Linked DNA regions of Homo sapiens: all the other regions are linked to region 2. Evidence: promoter capture Hi-C in 16 types of primary human blood cells and fetal thymus (Javierre and others, 2016). All regions are on one chromosome and are shown on one strand. Each heading gives the region's core, a stretch centred on a gene start or on the middle of the fragment in contact. The rest is flanking DNA. Distances are from core to core; before and after follow the strand shown. Region 1 has its middle 1.7 kb from the start of ESM1. Region 2 holds the start of GPX8 (glutathione peroxidase 8 (putative)). Region 3 has its middle 23 kb from the start of ESM1. Region 4 has its middle 61 kb from the start of ESM1.

Evidence for each region. The method cuts DNA at HindIII sites, captures the fragments that hold promoters and counts their contacts. A CHiCAGO score of 5 or more calls a contact.
Region 1: a fragment that was not itself captured here is called in contact with the fragment with the promoter of GPX8 in region 2 in 1 of 17 cell types (endothelial precursors); the score reaches 5.2 in endothelial precursors.
Region 3: a fragment that was not itself captured here is called in contact with the fragment with the promoter of GPX8 in region 2 in 3 of 17 cell types (activated CD4 T cells, naive CD4 T cells and non-activated CD4 T cells); the score reaches 7.9 in activated CD4 T cells.
Region 4: a contact is called between a fragment that was not itself captured here and the fragment with the promoter of GPX8 in region 2, in 5 of 17 cell types (non-activated CD4 T cells, activated CD4 T cells, naive CD4 T cells and 2 more). The highest score is 7.4, in non-activated CD4 T cells.

Annotation. Positions count from the first base shown.
Region 1 is chr5:54,985,722-54,988,947 of GRCh38, reverse strand. No RefSeq gene overlaps it. Among named protein-coding and RNA genes, the nearest start is that of ESM1, 1.7 kb to the right of the region's middle. The HindIII fragment of the contact is 2,647 bases long and covers 292-2,938 here.
Region 2 is chr5:55,158,549-55,161,529 of GRCh38, reverse strand. GPX8 (glutathione peroxidase 8 (putative)) reads right to left here and starts at 1,359. Exons shown (of 3, transcript NM_001008397.4): 1 at 1,134-1,359; 2 at 275-536. The coding sequence starts at 1,337. The region is part of intron 2 of CDC20B (cell division cycle 20B); the gene reads left to right. The HindIII fragment of the contact is 5,226 bases long and covers 172-2,981 here.
Region 3 is chr5:54,961,169-54,964,503 of GRCh38, reverse strand. No RefSeq gene overlaps it. Among named protein-coding and RNA genes, the nearest start is that of ESM1, 23 kb to the left of the region's middle. The HindIII fragment of the contact is 1,911 bases long and covers 1,077-2,987 here.
Region 4 is chr5:54,922,709-54,925,956 of GRCh38, reverse strand. No RefSeq gene overlaps it. Among named protein-coding and RNA genes, the nearest start is that of ESM1, 61 kb to the left of the region's middle. The HindIII fragment of the contact is 5,645 bases long and covers 1-3,248 here.

The DNA.
Region 1 (3,226 bases), core at 366-2,865, 170 kb after region 2:
AAAATCTGCATGTAAATGTCTCCACTTGCTCCTCCAAACTTTATGCCCTCAAGTCTGCCTTTGTAATTCAATTTAAACCAGACTTCTCTGGTAGAGCTGGTTTGTTAGGAAGGCACAGTAAGTACGGTATAATTCGCTTTACCATAAACCACCTTCTGAGAGTCTGGGATCTGCCCAGAGCCTTTCCACTGGACTACTTTTACCTATCCAGAAAAAAATCCTTGTTATTTGGTTAGAAGCAATCATAATGTACAAAATAAACACAAAATATTAATGCACATTACCAAAGCTTATTTTCCTAACACAATACCAGCTTTAAGAAAAAAATCAAAGTGGCATTTTAAGTATACAGGGTATACTGGGTTAAATAGATATTTGGTTTTATCATTTCTCTGCCCCCATTGCAAAACACCATATGCTGCAACATTTGGATCCACAGATGGTATGGTTTGACCCACCTTAGTTTGAACTTACATTTTAGGAGTTGTGAAAATCTTGTGCAATTCCTCTTGCCCTTTCTCACTCTGACTTGACAACTGATATACAGGCAGAGCAAGATGAGAGATGTTCCAGTCCCCAGCACAAAGCAAGTGAAATGGGTGGACCTCATGCACTCACTATCAACAGCTCTGCCATCATCTTATTGCTTTTTAATGCAGCTTAGAGTTGGCTCCTTGGTTGCTCGTGCTCCCATTTCCTAACCCTTTGTGGTCATTGCTAACTTTCCTAATGGAATTCATTGATCTGGGCTCAAGGCTCTGGGGAAGACAGAAATCACTAGATAAAAATCTTACAGGGATTGTGTTGGGACAAATGGTTTTTGTTGGGTCTTGGAGGGATTGAAGGTTCCCCTAAAATGAGTTGTTAGGCACTGTGTATTGAGATAGTTCCACCACTGGTGAACTCTATTGGGCATATTTTCTGCACTTACCTGTGCATTGTAGTTTGGTTTACTATTTGGATTTGGTACTCTCAACTTACATTTGTTTAGTTGTCATTTACTGAAGGTATTATCAATTTGGTTTCCCTTTATCTTCCATAGTGGAAGAGTTTCATGTCTTTATGTGCTATTCAGGAGGACGAAATCCACTCCATTCCTTCTGTATTACATCTAGTATAGCTTACCATGTCACCCACCTTGGGCACCTGTTTGGCACCTGTATGTATTTGATTTTACAATCCTTAATCCAGTCTCCAGAGCTTGTTGGTCTCAGGGCTGGAGTCCTGGCTTCACCATTTGCTAACTGTGTGATGATGGACAAGTTACTTACCCTCTCTAGGCCTCAGTTTTCTCATATCTAAGATGGGGATAAGAATAGCACCTAGCTCTTGAGGTTGTTTTGAAAGTTAAATGTGGTAATCTACATAAACTGCTTAGCATGGCATCTGGCACACAGTCAGATCTCTGTAAAGGTTAGATATTATTATTAACCACTATTCCAGTTAACTACTCCTCAGAAAGTGGTGTTCAGTAACAAGGGACATTTTCTAGGGTCAGCCTAAATTGCGACCTAGGCCATTGGAACTATTGGCCATGAAAGCACAATTATGTATTGTAATAGGCAATAGAATATGTGGCTCTGACATTAGACTAACATCCATCCCTTCAATATAGGGACCTTAGGCAAATTAACCTCTTTCTTACTCAGTTTCTTCTTTTAAAAAATAAGCATGATAATAGCAGCCACTTCATAATATTGTGATGAGGTGCAAATGAGTTAATGCATGTAAAGTGTTTAAGCTATTAACTCAACAAATATTACCCATTACTGAAAACATCAGAGTGTGCCACCTGCTAAGTAAGTGCTTCTGGGGAGATAGAGTATTTCAAATTGGATTGTCATGAAAAATTTGGAAAATTTGAAAGCTAAAACTCTTGCTTTCATTTCCTACTGCCTCAATTCTCTGTATTCTGAATTTACTCCCTGTGTCCCCCTAAAATTGCATTTGCAAAAGCCGATCTTCAAGTTACATCCAATGCCCGCTCTGCCTCATCTTCTATGGGAAACAAGAATTTTAGAGGTCAGGTAGCCTAACACCATCAATTCTCAAAAGAGGAAGCTGAGGCCAAGAGAAGTCCTGTGAATTTCTTACAGCTCATTTGTGACAGACCAAGAATTACCCACTTTACTGGGTTGTTATTTACTAAGTGACAGTGAGTCTATATCTCTTTTGACAAGTGAGGTGGGGGCATGGAATTCGGCATGTGGTTGGTGTAAGAACTCCCCTCTCTCCTCTTTAACCTTACTTAATAAGACCCTGGCACAGTTGATATTTTAAGAGGGCTACTCTGTTTTCCCAGAGGGACCTAGGCACGGTAACCCTCTTAGCATGCAGACCTTGTTTCCTGAGGGGTAATGTTTCCCTTCCCTGTGACTTGTTTCTTGGGGGCTGTGTTCTGATTTTCCTGCTGAGCCACTTGTTGCCTTGGGCTGGCTGCCGCGCTTGGCAGTTTTTAGTGAGGGCTCTGATAGATGCCAGGAGGTGAGGGGAAGGGCTCTGGGTGGACTCCGTCATTGGACAAGCAGACTTAGTGATGGATGAGCCTTCCCCTGAGGAAGTTTTGGATCAGAAGTCCAACTGATAAGTTTTTCCAGAATTGAGTAACCCAGAAGCAGTGCCGAAAGGATCTTACCTCTCTTGTGGCTTTTTGTATTGATTTTAAAAGAAATTCTCAGAGGCAGTTCCACATTGTACTGGAAGCACAGCTATATCCACAATAGGCTTAGATATATGTAACATGAATTGCTTTAGAAATAACATTTGAGGAGAGGGGTGAGAGGAAGGAAGAGAGGGTCTTAAAAAATAGCCCTATCAAAATATTTTCTTTCTTCTAAGTATTGAAAAGACACAATATAACCCTTTCTTCTTTCAAATGATCTCATAGCTATTTGTTGAGGGGAAATACCAAATGTTTATTATTTTTTTTGAAGAAGCTTCTTCGGTCCTGATGATTCATGTTGATATCATTTTCCTCCTGACTACAGAGGCTCTGAGACAAAGCTACACCTCAAGTGATATGCCAGGGTCAGAACAATTCCCGTCCTGAAGGAGGGTGTGCAACCTTCTTTATCCCTCCTTCACAGACGTCCTTGAGCCCTTGAGACGGATGTGAGTGAGTTTTTCAGTCCTCATGCAAAACAACCATCTAAACATAACAGATGACATCAGCTTGGGCTTTTCAATTCCTGGATGGCAGCAGCGTGTTAATCCAGCCTTCATCCTG
Region 2 (2,981 bases), core at 110-2,609:
ATGGGCACACTTTAAGTAAATTCTTCAGGAAGATGGTAATAAGGAATAAAATATATTGGAATAGAATTCTTTTACCATCTAAGAAGCTAAAACATTGATTTCAGGGGAGCATAACTCCTAGAAGTTACAAAGGATGAGATTCTGGCTCTTTGATGATAGTTTTATGAAGCTTTCCCGATACAACGTTTCAAATGAAATAGGAAAGTATTGTCCTGGTATAATTGTTTAAAAATGAAAAGCAATTTAAAACAGCATATGCAAGGCAGATATTTACCAACAAGAAATCTAAATGCAGGTTCTCCTTCAGATCCTAGAATCTTAATCTTGTGGAAGATGGGGAAAGTTACTCCGTAGTTTTTTCTTGCAAAAGATTCTACTTCCTTGCTTGGGCGGGGCTCCGATTCTCCAAACTGATTGCAGGGAAAAGCCAACACGCTGAAGTGGGATGGTCCAAACTCTTTGTGCAGTTCCTTCAGCCCTAAGTAATTTCTGTCTGTGAGTTGGCAGTCACTGGCCACGTTTACAACTAGTGAAACCTCCCGGAAAAAGAAAAAAATCCAACCGGAAAGTGAAGCAAAAGATTTTAAAAAATTCTGCAAGTAGTTAAAATCCTAAACAATTTGGGGGGGACTATAACCTCTGATTGATGTTTTTTTCATATTTTTGGACATACACAGTTCTATTGAAAACTGTAACCTAGATGCCTGGGTTAAGGCCCTGAAATAGTACTGCCATTAAAAAAGCATTAGATACTCATGAAAGTTTATTTTTAAATTAAAGATAAAACTATGATCCTTGATAAGTTCTTTTTAAAGTTATTAGATTATAGAACCAATACTTTTATTAATAAATGTCATCATGTTCACATTACTAACTATAAGTATTTTCCAAACAACTTTACATGTCAATTCAGCACAAAATTAAAGCATTTTAAAGAAAACGAGATAATCGGAATTTATTATTTAGAAGCAAACTATCAGAACTGTAATAACTAAAGTGATGTACTAATACCATTACTCTGAAGACTAAATTCCAACTTATGACCATGTAACAGCAAAAAATTGATTTTATTAAGAGGAATAAACAGAGACAAGGAAAAATGATAACAATAAAAATCAGATGATGCAACTTACTTTGCCTTTATACTTTTCCAGAGAAACAGTTCTTCCTTTTGCATCCTTCACTTCAAAGGCATAAAAGCTGTTGATTTTAGGTTTGAGGAATTTTAGTTGTAGAAGAAATAGCGTTACTGTGCATAGAACTATAGACAGCAAAACTGCAAATACCTTTGCTCTGGGCCCGGAACATTTTAGCGGGTAAGCTGCAAGAGGCTCCATGTTGGAGGATTCTAGAGGGAAGTCTCAGCAGCCTGGAATTCAAGGAGGAGCTGAAACTTGAAACCGGCTTAGTTTAACGGAAAACCAGGAAGGACAGGCTGACTGCTTTCACTGCTAAGGAACAGAAAGACCACTTCTCAGAGGGGAAATGAAGCGAAACTCCTGAATGAAGCAAGGAGCTCTACAGAATTTCAAAGTATTTGTGATGTAATTATAATTTTTGCTAGAAAAATCAGGACATTTTTGGTAGGTCTTTGACATTCTCCCTACAAAGAAAATATTTCGCCAGAAGATGGTGCTCTTGTAACTCGAAAGCTACGGAGGGCTCATTCCCCATGCTAAGCTGTGTATTTATTGAGCAACTGTTTGGATGCAGAGGATGGAGTACGATGCTCAGCAATAGTTTAGAATGTAGATTAAATGTGACCTACTCATATGGTGTATACCCTGAAGGACGTTACTATTACATGTATGGGTTAAACATGCTATATGAGTTCAGGAAATTTATAGTGGAAAGAGCAGGGAAATATCTGAAAAAGGCTATTTACCCTGATTCATCTAGCTAAGGCAATCAAATACCAAGTGAATACAGTCAAAATAAATATGTTAAAAACAGTGAAGGTGTTAAAAGAAACCCTTCTCTATCATAGAGCAAACTATAGTCCAGTGTTTTTCAAATTTCTACTCATGACCCCCAGTCAGCAGTGCACTTTACAACATAACTGGGTACAAACAACACACAACTGAGAAACAACACTTCTCCTTTGAACTGTGATGCACCCCCACCTGTTGCATTTTTAAACAACCCAGTTCTGACCTATCAAAATGATTTCATCATTCACCGATGCACTACAACCTGTAGATGGAAAAAACTGAGGCCGGGCATGGTGGCTCACGCCTGTAATCCCAGCACTTTGGGAGGCCTAGATGGGAGGATCACTTGAGCCCATGAGTTCAAGACCAACTTGGGCAAGAAAGCGATACCCCTGTCTCTAAAAAAGAATTTTAATTAGCTGGTTGTGGTGGTGCATGGCTGTGGTCCCAGTTATACAGGTGGCAAAGGTGGGAGGATCGCTTGATCCCAGGAGGTTGAGGCTGCAGTGAGTCGTGTTTGTAGACTGCAGCCTGGGTGACAGAGTGAGACTATCTTAAAATCAGAACAAAAGAAGAAGAGGGAAAAAAGCAAAAATTGAACTCGATAATAAAGTAGTAATTTAACAGTTAAATAAGGCAATTCTACCAAAAAAAATCCCTGAAAACAAACAAACCCTGCAAAACCCACCTCTACTTGGGCACGTCATCTAATTGCTTCGTTTTTTCTCTTTATTTCCCTCCCCTGGCTGTTGCCTGGCACAGGGGGCCTAACTTTGCTGTTGCTAACGGTCATGAATTTTAGGGGTAGGTATGGGGAGGCAATTGAGGGCTGTATATCCTAAAAGCCATTCACTTTCAATTCTGCTCTGTTTAAGACTCATGGCAAGATCTGGATGAAGGGGCATTATGCCATTTGATCATGATGTGTTTCCAGAAAGTGCAGGGAATGAGCTGAGATGTTTGTGGAGTGCCCTTCCTGTCACTGTTAGCTTGTGGAGCTTCAGAGAGGGTGCTCAGGGTGCTGCCTGCTCTTCTGGTTCCCGCTCTGTG
Region 3 (3,335 bases), core at 783-3,282, 200 kb after region 2:
TTTATGGTGGTGTGAGAATGAATTAATACACCACTTAAGTTTTAAAAAAGGAATGTATTGGCTCACATTACTAAAATAGGTACAGCTGGCTTCAGCTTTGGCTGAATCCACAGGCTTCACTTACCTTGTCTGATTCCCCATCTCTCAGGAGAAAGTGGGTCTACTCTGGTGACTGTAGAACTTTCTCAATAGCTACAGCAGAAAAGTCCTAGAAAGTACTCTGGTGGGATAGTCTGAGTGACTAGGCCAGGACTGGGAGTGGGGATGAAGAATTGTCCATGGGAAAGAAGAGTTTAGATTCCAAAGAAACATGGAAAGAGTGATAGAATGAAGCATGGCAGAGACAATACCTGTTAATTCCAGAGCTCCCACTGTGACACAATCAGCTGTACCCGGGTATGAGGTAGGGCACAGTTCACATGGTACCAAATAAATTTAGGACAAGAAGGGCTATAGCCAGGAGGAAAAGTCGACCATAAGGGGGTATGGGTGGGGCAAATGTGTGAAAACATGCCTATCACAGCTGGCATGGATGTATCCAAATAGGTGAGTGCTGGGAAGTACATTGTGGCACCTGACCTTAGGAGGAAGAAATACATAGTTACTAAGAGGCAGAAATCTGGTCTGTGTTGCACGACTAACTAGGGGTGTGACATTGGGCAAGCAGCTCAATCTTTTTGGGCCTCACTTTGGTTATCTGTAAAATGAGGGGCGTGGTTAATTGACCTCAGAGGACCCCTTCAGTTACAAAACTCTATTATTCTATCATGTAGGTCTTGAATTATACTTCGTTCCTCTGAGCTACAGTGATCATCTCATTATTCTGATTGAAAGGCTGAGTCCAGGGAGGACTTGCGGGGTGGGGTGGACTCATGAGCATATCATGTAGTTGGCTTCACATGTAGCACAATTTGAGGACAACACAATCGTCACCTGTCCTTAAAATTTCTCCCTCTGTCTATCACAGTGCCTGAAGCCCCAGCATTGATACATTTTTAGGTTTTGAGTCACTGATCCAAGTTATTTCCCACTACACTTGTCTAGCTCTCTCTGATCTCACTGGCTTTAGTGAAGCTTGTTCTTTTGCTTATATTATCCTGACCCTGATCCATTGCTGAGTTCACTCTTAGCCATTCTTTAAATTTCAGTTCAGTTCTTCATTTTTAAAGGAACTGTTCCATGGTCTCTGGGACTCAGCTAAACCCCTCTCTGTTATGCTCTCCAAGCACCACGTTGCTTTTCTGCAGGCATCTATGAGAGATGCTATTATTTATCAATTGCTCACGCACTAGGTCTTCTCATAAGAGCATTAGCTCCAGGAAGATAGAAACTGCATCTGTTTTTGTTGACTGCTTGTCTCTAGGAAGTGGCACAGTACTTGGCATATAGTAGAGACTCAATAAATATTCATTTAATTTTTAGTTTTAAGGTGGCTTAAACACTATGGAATTTAGTTTTAAGGTAGTTTAAACATCAGGGAAAAAATTTTATATAGGAATGTTTCCCTTCTGTGGGTTTTTCCTCAACTTAGATTTCACAAGTGTGGTCTATGATTGGCTAAGAGCAATGATAGGTGATTGAAGAAGTTTCCAGAACTCACTCCCTTCCACTTAATCAAGAGCCAGCAGATGTGATCAGGCTTTTCTTCCTTGAGTTTCACTCCCTTCCTTACACACACACACACATACACACACACACACACATATTGGTTTACAGCCACAGTTCCTGGCTCATTACTCCCATAGCCCTTGTTCCAGTCTTTCGTTACACTGTTAGGTGTGTGAGGTCTCAGGGGCAGCCCTGGACCTTCTCCTGCCCTCCTTTCACCTTGCCTAAGGCAGGACTCTAATGTTCCCTGCCTTTCTGATTGTGGGCCTTAAGCCCCTCCCAAGAGAGGGTCCTTCCTTATACCTCAGGGGAAGGAATGCTGATGTCATGAAGCCTTCTTAAAAACCCAAGAGGACCAGGGTTCAGTGAGCTTCCAGATAGCTGAACATGTGGAGGTTCTTGAACCCAGGGCACCAGGTAGGCTCCATACCCCTTTCCCCATACCTTGCCCTACATGTGTCTTCATCTGTATCCCTTGTAATCCCCTTTATAATAAAGTGGTAAGTGTAAGTAATTATTTCCTTGAGTTCTGTGAATCCTTTCAGCCAATTAATCGAACTCCAAGAAGGAGTTTTGGGAACCTCAACTTGAAGCCAGTTTGTCAGAAGTTTCAGAGGCCCAGACTTGCGACTGGTGTCTGGGGGGTGTGGGGAGCAATGTTGGGGACTGAGCCCCCAACAGGCCAGATCTGACACTATCTCTGGGTAGGTAGCATCAGAACTGAATTGGAGGACACCCAGCTGGAGTCTGCTGCTTGGTGTGTAGGGAAAAACTCCACACATTCTGTGTTGGGAAGTCTTCTGTGTTGATGATTGTTGTTGTGGTGGTGTCAGAGTAGAGGGAAAATGCAGTTAGAAAGAGAGTTTTTCCCCATACACCCTTCAGTAGAAACCCCTAACTGTAAGCATATTGCAAGACCCAAAGACTCTATTAAGAGACCCCATATCCAACCTTCCTTTGGCAAGATCTGAAAACCAACCTGCCTCTTCTGCAGAAGGCTAACTTTCACAGTACCAGGGCATGCTTCCGAATTAGCTAGTGCTCAATGATCAGAGCTAGAGACTGGCTGTTGCTAATAGTGGCAATGAGAGGCAGAGCAGAGCCATCTTTTCATCCACACATCTTTGCACTACACAAAGACGAATCGCAACCTCCATGGATTCTTGAAACCTGTGACATGCCATTTAAAGAACAGACACCAGAGAATACAATGGTGTCATTTGGGTTTGTCTCATTTCCTTCCATCCTCAGATCTAGGAGGATATCAGGGAGATTGCAGATCTCCAATGGTGAAGGCTAAGTGGGAACGTTAGTCCAGGGAATTCTCTTCTTACACGGAATGCATCCTTTTTTTTGGAGTGCAGTAGTCAGTGTAAGCTTTGTGCTTATCCTGCTGAAATCACACATGAACCCTTTCAGTGAAAGCATGTCTACATATCCTGGTTTTATCCCTTGGAGTTCTCAGCTCTGTATTTGAGGTTTTTATAACTGAGAGGTAAGAACAAATATTTCCCCAGGCCTGGCCATGTGTTTGGATAGTAAATTATACTAAATGTGACTTTCAGGGGGTGTCCATGATTCATAAAATCCTATTTCTTCCAGGCCCTCATGTGCCTCTTAGCACCTGAGCTGCTTCTCAGGGCTCCAAATGTGGCCCTACATGTCCAGTGTCACAGCCTACAGACTCAGTTTCTGAGCCACAAAGCCTTATTCTGGCCACAGGGCTG
Region 4 (3,248 bases), core at 138-2,637, 240 kb after region 2:
CCTGCAAGCAAAAAAAAAAAAAAAAAAAAAAGCCCTCACCAAACTCTGGTCATGCTGGCACTCTGATCTCAGACTTCTCAGCTTCCAGAACTGTGAGAAATAGATGTGTTCTGCTTAAGCCACTTACTCAATGGTATTTTGTTACAGTGGCTTGAGCTAAGACATTGTGCAGGAATCTTTGATAAGATTAGCAGTGACTTTCTTACAAAAGACCAGGGAGGACAGAAGGCAAGACGATGATACTAAAAAGTTCTGAAAGAAAGAAAGAAAGGGATGAAGGAAGGAAGGAAGGAAGAAAGGAAGGAAGGAAGGGAGGAAGGAACTGTCAACCAAGAATTTTATCTTCTGCAAACTATCCTTCAAAAATAAAAAAAAGCTAAGATATTCTCAGATAAAAACTGAGAGAGGTAGTTTATAGCAGACCTGCTCTACAAGAAATCTAAAAATAGTCATTCAAAATAAAAAGACACTTCACATAACTCAAATCTACCTGAGATAATGAAGAGCACCAATAAAGGTAACTACAGAGGTAAATGTAAAAGATAGTATAAATGTATATTTTGCATGTAACTCATTTTCCTCCATCTGATTTAAAAGACAACTACATAATGCAATAATTATAAATTTATGTTGATGGGCACACAATGTATGAAAATGTAATCTGTAACAATAACAGCATAAAGGAGGAGGGGGACATAGAGATAGAAGCAAATTTCTTGTATACTATTGAAACTGAGTGTTTGGACAAGGTTGTTATAAATTAAGATATTAATGTTAATTCATAGGCAACCACTAAGAAAACAACTAAAATATATATAGTAAAAGAAATAACAATTCCAGCACTTTAGGAGGCCAAGGCGGGCAGATCACTTGAGGCCCGGAGTTTGAGACCAGCATGGGCGACATGGTGAAACCCTGTCTCTACAAAAAATACAAAAAATTAGCCGGCTGTGATGGCATACACCTGTATTCCCAGCTACTCAGGAGACTGAGGTGGGAGGATCAATTGAGATCAGGAGTTCGAGGCTGCAGTAAGCTGTGATTGTGCCACTGCACTCCAGCTTGAGTGACAGAGCAAGACCCTGTCTCAGGAAAAAGAAAAGAAAAAAAAGAAAAGAAAAAGGAAATCATAATTGAATTAAAATTGTACACCACAAGAAAACATCTATTTAACACAAAAGAAAGCAGTAATGAAGAGAGGAACAAAGATTAAGGCATATAGAAAACAAATAGCAAAATGGCAGGCATAAATCCTACTTTATCAGTAGCTACATTAAATGTAAATGGGTTAAACTCTTCAATTAAAAGTCAGAAATAAATGAATTTTAAGAAAAATACATATTTTATGCTGCCCAAAAGACACTTATTTTGGATTCAAAGACACAAATATGTTAAAAGTAAAAAGATGACAAAAGATAAATGATACAAACAGTAACCAAAAGAGACAAGTGGCTTTACCAATATCAGACAAAATTGACTTTAAAATAAAAATTGTTACTAGAGACAAAGAGAGGTCAATCTATTAAGAAAATATAACAATTACAAATATATATGCACCTAGCAACAGAGCCCCAAAATACATGAAGCAAAAACTGACACACTTGAGAAAAGAAATAGACAGTTCAACCATAACAGTTGAAGACTTCAGAACCCTATTTTTTTATTTATTTATTTTGCAGAAACTTATTGCCCAGAGCTGACAGTACCCTACTTTCAATAATGGTTTATCCAAAGTAGAAAGATCAACAAAAATTAGAAGATTTGAACAACACTATAAAGCAACTAGACCTGACATCTGTAGAACACTCTACCCAGCAATGGCATAATACACATTATTCTTTTTTATTATTATTATACTTTAAGGTTCTGGGTTACATGTGCAGAACATGCAGTTTTGTTACATAGGTATACATGTGCCTTGGTGGTTTGCTGCACCCAGCAGCCAGTCACCTACATTAGATATTTTTCCTAATGTTATCCCTCCCATAGGCCCTGACCACGCCACAGGCTCTGGTGTGTGATGTTCCCCCTCCCTGTGTCCGTGTGTTCTCACTGTTCAACTCCCACTTATGAGTGAGAACATGTGGTGTTTTCTGATCTTTTGATAGCTTGCTGAGAATGATGGTTTCCAGCTTCATCCATGTTCCTACAAAGGACATGAGCTCATCCTTTTTTAATGGCTGCATAGTATTCCATGGTGTATATGTGCCACATTTTCTTAATCCAGTCTATCATTGATGGACATTTCGGTTGGTTCTAAGTCTTTGCTATTGTGAATAGTGCTGAAATAAGCATATGTGTGCATGTGTCTTTATCACAGAATGATTTATAATCCTTAGGGTATATGCCCAGTAATGGGATGGCTGGGTCAAATGGTATTTCTAGTTCTAGATCCTTGAAGAATCACCACACTGTCTTCCACAATGGTTGAACTAATTTACACTCCCACCAACAGTGTAAAAGCGTTCCTATTTTTCCACAACCTCTCCAGCATCTGTTGTTTCCTGACTTTTTAATGATTGCCATTCTAACTGGTGTGAGATGGTATCTCATTGTGGTTTTGAGTTGCATTTCTCTAATGACCAGCGATGATGAGCTTTTTTTTCAAATGTCTGTTGGCTGCATAAATGTCTTCTTTTGAGAAATGTCTGTTCATAACCTTTACCCATTTTTTGATGGGGTTGTTTGATTTTTTCTTGTAAATTTGTTTAAGTTCTTTGTAGATTCTGGATATTAGCTCTTTGTCAGATGGATAGATTGCAAAAATTTTCTCCCATTCTGTAGGTTGCCTGTTCACTCTGATGGTAGTTTCTTTTGCTGTGCAGAAGCTCTTTAGTTTAATTAGATCCCATTTGTCTATTTTGGCTTTTGTTGCCATAGGTTTTGGTGTTTTAGACACAAAGTCTTTGCTCATGCCTATGTCCTGAATGGTATTGTCCACGTCATCTTCTAGGATTTTTATGGTCCTAGGTCTTACGTTTAGGTCTTTGATCCATCTTGAGTTGATTTTTGTATAAGGTGTAAGGAAGGAGTCCAGTTTCAGTTTTCCGCATATGACTAGCCAGTTTTCCCAACACCATTTATTAAATAGGGAATCATTTCCCCATTGCTTGTGTGTGCATCAGATTTGTCAAAGATCAGACAGTTGTAGCTGTGTGGTGTTATTTTTGAGGCCTCCATTCTGTTCCCTTCATCTATATATCTGCTTTTGTAGCAGTACCATGCTGTTTTGGTTACTCTAGCCTTGT